Linked DNA regions of Homo sapiens: region 1 is linked to region 2. The links are contacts of gene promoters, found by promoter capture Hi-C in blood cells and fetal thymus (Javierre and others, 2016). All regions are on one chromosome and are shown on one strand. Each heading gives the region's core, a stretch centred on a gene start or on the middle of the fragment in contact. The rest is flanking DNA. Distances are from core to core; before and after follow the strand shown. Region 1 holds the start of CASKIN1 (CASK interacting protein 1). Region 2 overlaps TBC1D24 (TBC1 domain family member 24).

The links. Contacts are between HindIII fragments. The CHiCAGO score rates a contact against its expected background, and 5 or more counts as called.
Region 1: a contact is called between the fragment with the promoter of CASKIN1 here and a fragment that was not itself captured in region 2, in 2 of 17 cell types (fetal thymus and erythroblasts). The highest score is 6.5, in fetal thymus.

The regions. Positions count from the first base shown.
Region 1 is chr16:2,194,732-2,197,941 of GRCh38, forward strand. CASKIN1 (CASK interacting protein 1) reads right to left here and starts at 1,874. Exons shown (of 20, transcript NM_020764.4): 1 at 1,608-1,874. The coding sequence starts at 1,701. The HindIII fragment of the contact is 37,961 bases long and covers 1-3,210 here.
Region 2 is chr16:2,502,647-2,505,841 of GRCh38, forward strand. It overlaps TBC1D24 (TBC1 domain family member 24), which reads left to right. Exons shown (of 8, transcript NM_001199107.2): 8 at 1-3,084. Among named protein-coding and RNA genes, the nearest start is that of ATP6V0C, 9.7 kb to the right of the region's middle. The HindIII fragment of the contact is 5,616 bases long and covers 1-3,195 here.

The sequences.
Region 1 (3,210 bases), core at 624-3,123, 310 kb before region 2:
GGCCAGGCAAGACAGGCAGAGACCCAGGTGAGAGTGGAAGCCCCCACACCTCCCCAGAATGGCCACAATAGAAGGGAGGAGGAACCTCCCCAGAGCTGAAGCCCCCACTTCCCCAGCCCCTGGCCCTGGGCCGTCCAAGACTGCGGTCATTGCTGGCATTTACTGAGCACTTACTGAATGCCTGGGCTGCAAGTGCCCAGGCTCACTGGTCTTAGGACCCCACCGTGAGGCTGACATCCCATCCTACAGACGAGGAGACTGAGGTCCACTGAGCTGGAGTTGTCTGTGTCCAAGGTCATGCGGCCACTAGGTGGAAACCTTTACCTTGCCTTCCCTCAATCCCTACACCTGCTCTCCAGGCTCAGCTGAGGCTGCCTCTGCCCACAAGCTCTCCCTTTCTGAGCCCCCGGACCTGAAATCAGCTCGGGGCCAGCCTGCAAGGCACCGGTGCCCCCTCTCTCTTACTGCACAGAGTGGACAGGAGCTAGCCAGTCATGGGCTGCTGGTGAAGTACGGGGGAGGGGGTCCTCCTGGGACTCCTAGGTGCCCCCAACAATCTCCCAGAAGCCAGTCCCAGTTCTCGGCATCCCCCTGGAGGAAGGGGAGGGGGACTCTCTGGCTTACAGTCTGTGGGGGTGGAGGGAGGAGGGAGGACGCCCAGACCCCACGTGCCGACCTGCAGAGCCCTGTCCGTGCCCGCACAGGTGCCCTGACACACTGACACGGCTATACGTGCGCAGCCGCACACGCGGCTGGTCCACACGCCCATCCATCCATCTCCGGCGGCCCCCAGGGAGGCTACGCGCTGAGCCAGGATGAGTGCTGGGACCAGGGCTCCAAGCTCCCAGCCCTTTCCTGGGGCCGGCCATAGGGCAAGCTGGGGATGGCCAGTGGTGGTCCCCCACTCCCTCATGGCCTCCTTTCCCAGCAGGGAAGCTGGAGACCCGGCTCTGCTGGAGCCTGCCTGAGCAGGGCCCCAAGCCCTTGCGCCCAGGCCGGCCCTGCCTGGAGTCCAGCCTGCCCTGGGCTGGGCGACCTTGGGCCTCTGCTCTCCCATCAGTAAATGGCACCCCACCGGCCATGCCAGGGCAGCCACACCCCCAGCGTGGTCCTGCCCCCACCTTCCCTGCAAAGCGTGTTATTAAACGTGGGGCGGGAGGGGGTCTGCTAGGGACTGTCACCTCCCGGGTCGCCCCTCGCCGCAGGGGCCCCCTCCCTGTCTTCCCGGTGCGTGTGGTGGGTGGGGGGGGCATCCGCCTCGCCCTTTGAAGGCCCCAGCAGAGACCTCCAGCTGTCAGCCCGCAGCCTGGGAAGGGAGGGGGACAGAGGTAGAGAGAGAGGGATGCGAACGCCCGCGGCCCGGGAGGCGGGTGCCGCCAGGTGCCCGCTGCGGGGCTCACGGTGGCGGCCGGCTCTCGGGGCCGCCCCATCTCCAGTGCTGGGGGCAGCGGGTGGAGGGCACGGACCAAGGGTCTGGGCGCTGCTGGCCCCGCCCCGCCCCCGGGGACCCGACAACGTCCCCTCCCCGCCCGGCGCCGGGTGGGGGGCTCCGCGCCGGGGAGGGGCCCCCGGGGCTCCCACCCGCGCCCCGCGCCCCCGGCACTCACTGGCCTTCCCGGGCCGCGGCCTCTGCAGCAGCCTCTGCGCGGTCCCTACGTCCTCCGCCTTCACCGCCTGCACCAGCTCCTGCTCCTTCCCCATGGCGCGGCCGGGGCCGCAGCGACGCGGCTGCGCTCGTGAGCTCGGCGCGGCTCAGAGGCGGCGGCGGCCCCGCGGCACCGGCCGCCTCCCCCGCCGCCTCCCCCGCCGCCTCCTCGCCGCCCGCCGCCCCTTCGCCCTCCTCGGGCTCCGGCTTGGGCTCGGGCTCCCGGCGCGGAGGGGGCGGGGAGCGCGTCACGGGCGGGGGGCGGCCCGGGGGCGGGGGCGCGCGGCGGGCGCGGGGCGGGGGCGCGGCACCTGGCGCCGCCTCCCGGACGCCGGGGTCCGCTCCCGGGCCGCCGACCTCCGTCAGCCCGCGCCGGCCGCGCGCCCGGGCCCGTGGCTCCGCCCTCCCCGCGCCCGCCCCGGGACGCCCCCTCCCCACGTGCGCGCAGCGCGCTCAGGCCAGGCCTCTGCGGACGCGGGCGGCCTGGGGCTGCTAGCCGGGCTGGGGACGCGGCCGCCGGGGGTGCACTGGGAGCCCCGACGCGGCGGCGGCGCGGGGCTGAGCCCAGAGAGGCTTCCAGAGGCTGCGGGACCCGCGGGGGACGGTTCCGAGGCAGCGGGCGGGCGGGGACCGGGCGCCGAGAGACCCGGGCGCCAGTGCCCCTGGAGCCGGCCCGCCAGGCTGTCAGGCGTTCCTGGCCCAGGGTTCCCGTGGGAGGTGTCGAGGGATTGTGAAGAGGAATCTCCCAATAATGAATTCGGTGTCAGGGAACCCGCACCCCCAACCCCCAAGCATCCTCCTGCTCCTCTCCGCAAATAATGCGGGCGCCACAGCTTCCCCCAGCCTCAGTCCGAAGCCTGACCCCAAGGTAGCCCCCACCACCCCCACTGAGGGAGCTCAACTCCCCACTCCCCGCACCGACTGGGGGTCGCCTCCATCTCCATCCACAGGGGCTGGAACCTCCCGCCGGCACCAACCGACCCCCGGCCCACGTCTGCCCACTCTCCAGCCTGCAGCCCAGGCAGGCGAGTCCTGCTTCCTGGGTGCTGGAGGCCCCGACTTGTGACCCTCTGAGCTCCTGGCTGAAGGCTTGGGCCACCCTGCGCCTCAGGCCCTCTCCCGTCAGGCCTGCAGCATTCTAGAGGCAGATCAGTGGGGGTCTGAGTCCCGACTCAGGCTCCGTTTCCCTCATCACCCAAGCGGGCAAGGCCGTTTGGAGAATTTGGGGAGGGTCGCACCCATTCTATGAGGCATGGCCTGGCACCCCACTCTGTGTGGCCCCAGACCATTGAGCAGGTCCAGGGGGACAGAGGAGGTCAGACAGCAGGGACAGGGAAGGTGACAGGCACCGGGGTCCCGGCATCCTGTGGGCAGCTGGCCGTTCCCGTTCCCTCCGTGGGGTCTCCTGTTAGGTTCAGGTAGCAGCCCTTGGTCTTCCAGCACTCCTGGGAGGGGTCCCCAAATGCTAGGGCCTTTCCTCTTGCCCTTTCCAATGACCAGTTGAGTACCCGCTGGGTCAGGCACTGTGCTGGTCACCTCCTAGATGAGGTTGGACTCACTGTCCC
Region 2 (3,195 bases), core at 629-3,128:
TGGGGCCAGTCCCCATGCCCTGCTGTCCTCCTCACAGGACTGTTGAGAGGCTCGCAGGGGGATGGGGTGAATCCCTCTCACGGGGAGAGGTATGGGAGGGAAGTCGCCACTCATCTCAGCCCACCGCAGCCCTCCAGGCCCCCGCCTGAGCCCCTGAGGCCCTCATCTGTACCGCCAGCTTTGGTGTTCATTAAACATGGTCTTGCTGCATCAACTCCAGGGCTCCAAGCTGAGTCTGATCTCTTCAGCCAGAGGGGCCTCCGGGGGCTTCCTGGGCCTACAGCCAAGCAGGTGTGGGAGGCTGCCCGCTGTAGTGCTCACCCACATTCTATGACTGGAATGCTGCAAGCCTCTTCCAGAGGGAGCCCTCCAGGAGCAGGGAAGTCATATCCGTGGACCATTTGTAGGTTTCCCTCTGCAAACTTCCTGAACTGGGTGGTGATTTTTCTGGCGAGTTAAGTCCAGCAGGTTCTGCGTGGCTGCCCCCAGGGGGCCCCACCCGGGCCTTCCAGTGATCTGGACCAGGAAGACGGATTGCTGCTGGGTCATGATTTCCACATCATGAGCGAAGTTCTTTGTTTTTTGTGTGCATGCAAAATATTGTTTCTTTAAATTTAATATCTTTTCCTAACTTTTCTACTAACCTAGAAGGTATGTGTGATTATTATCTTTTTTATTCTTATCACTGTACTTGTTAGTATCTGATATTAGGTATTCCCAAATAGAACATAATTTATTTTGTTAATGTTCTCTATTTCTTCTTGATTATTTATTAGCTTTGGATGTTAAAAATTAGCCAAAAGTGGCTGCTCTGCCTATGAAGTAGCCATTCTTTGTTTAAAAAAAAAAAAAGCCAACATTTGTTGAAACTGCATAATAAATTATCATTTGTTTTTAGAAACATTCAAAGAATTATTTTTTGATTTTTTTTTTTTTTGGGACAGAGTCACCCAGGCTGGAGTGCAGTGGCATGATCTTGGCTCACTGCAACCTCCGCCTCCTGGGTTCAAGCGATTCTCCTGCCTCAGCCTCCTGAGTAGCTGGGATTACAGGCATACGCCACCACGCCCAGCTAAATTTTTTTTGTATTTTTAGTAGAGGCAGGGTTTCACTGTGTTGGTCAGGCTGGTCTTGAACTCCTGACCTCGTGATCCACCCCCCCCTCAGCCTCCCAAAGTGCTGGGATTACAGGCGTGAGCCACCGCGCCTAGCCTATTTTTTAATTTTTTTGAATAGACCACTTTGTGCTGAATAAATGTTTAACATTTATTTTTAAAACAACAATTGCACCTAATTTAAAATAGTTTATTAAATGAATTCATTAAAGCAGATTATATGCCTTTGGGGCTTCAGAAAATCAGTTTAAGCAAAAGAACTTATGAGAGTAAGTCATTTGTACTTGAATTTTTTCAGAGTTTTAATGAACTAAAGTATTTTAATTTTTCTATTTTTGTAAGCCGCATACTTCATTTTTTGAGTTTTTCAGTGGAATTTGTTTTAAAACGTTTTGAAGATTTCAGAGGCCTTCATATTTCTCTTATCCACTTTCTGAACCCATAAAGCCTTTGCAGTCTCCTTGAGTAGTTTATATTTAGTAATTTAGTTGTGTACCTTTTTATTTTGAAGTAATTTTTGATTTGCAGAAGAGTTGCAGAGACGGTACAGGGTTTCCATGTACCCTCACCTTCCCCCAAGTCAATATCAAAACAAAGAAATAAGCATTGTTGCATTGCTGTTAACTAAACCACAGGCCTATTGAGATTGTCCCTTTTTTTTTTTTTTTTTTTTTTGAGACAGAGTCTCGCTCTGTCGCCCAGGCTGGAGTGCAGTGGCGCGATCTCGGCTCACCGCAAGCCCCGCCTCCCGGATTCACGCCATTCTCCTGCCTCAGCCTCCTGAGTAGCTGGGACTACAGGCACCTGCTACCACACCCGGCTAATTTTTTTATATTTTTAGTAGAGATGGGGTTTCACCGTGTTAGCCAGGATGGTCTTGATCTCCTGACCTCGTGATCTGCCCTCCTCGGCCTCCCAAAGTGCTGGGATTACAGGCGTGAGCAACCGCGCCCAGCCGAGATTGCCCCGTTTTTTTCCCACTGTCCAGGAATCGATTTAATTTTTACAGTTGTTTACTTTCTCACATTTTTACTAAGTCCAGAATATCATCAAACTCACAAAACCACTGGTCAAAAAAACCCAAATGGCCACTAATTAGGCAATACAGCACCTGCCTCAAATTTGGGTTCATATAGATTTTTTTCCTCCCTTTTTGTGGAGAACATAGTCTTGCTGTGTTGCCCAGGCTAGTCTTGAACTCCTGGACTCAAGCAATCCTCCCGCCTCTGCCTCCCTAAATTCTGGGATTACAGGCGTGAGCTGCTGTGCCCAGCTCATCCAGATTCTTGCTGGTTCTCTTTCTCAGCCTAAATGTCTTGTTTGCGTGGAGAAATTATCAAATGAAGCAGGAGTGCCAAACAAGCCTCATAGGCTCTTCACCCTACAACATCTATGTTAGGTAGAAAAGTATGTGGATTTTTAAAAATCATCTGGTATAAAGAGTTTTTAAGAACTATCTTCATCATCTTAGTATCAGATTGTGCTTGAGAAGTTAGGTACAATGTAATGTGATTCATTGCTAAAAACAAAATGCCTCCCACAATTGCAGACTCACTCATTTTACCAAACTATGGAATTTGTCAACACCTTTTCTTGGGACCAAGGAAGCAAAGTCAGTGGATACCGTGTCCTGTAGACATGTCACTTGTGATAAGGCACGGACAACATGAACTGGCAAAAACATTGGCATTTGGTCAAATGCTTATGAGCTAAGGATAGAAGGGAAAAAATAGTTGTGTGAATGATTTTACCTCTTAGTTCTTACGAAGGATGGTTATCGGGCTGGAAAAATGTTTATTGGACTGATGCTTTGGAGCCTCTCAATGAATGTAATAAAAAAAATGTGTAGTGAGCACAAATGTATGGATTTGCAGCACAATCCAACTTTGAAAATGTGAAAATAAGTGAGTTAGTGATATGTTTGGTTGGTGTTAATTTGAGTCCTAAATAAAATCGAGAACTGGTAAAAGAAGGTCACTGTGAAATAACTTGCTATGAGAAGGCTTAGAGGGATGGGAAGTCCTGGACGCCTCTTCTCCAGGGTGTTGGAGGAGAGAGGGAGGCGCTAGGTTGACAAGAC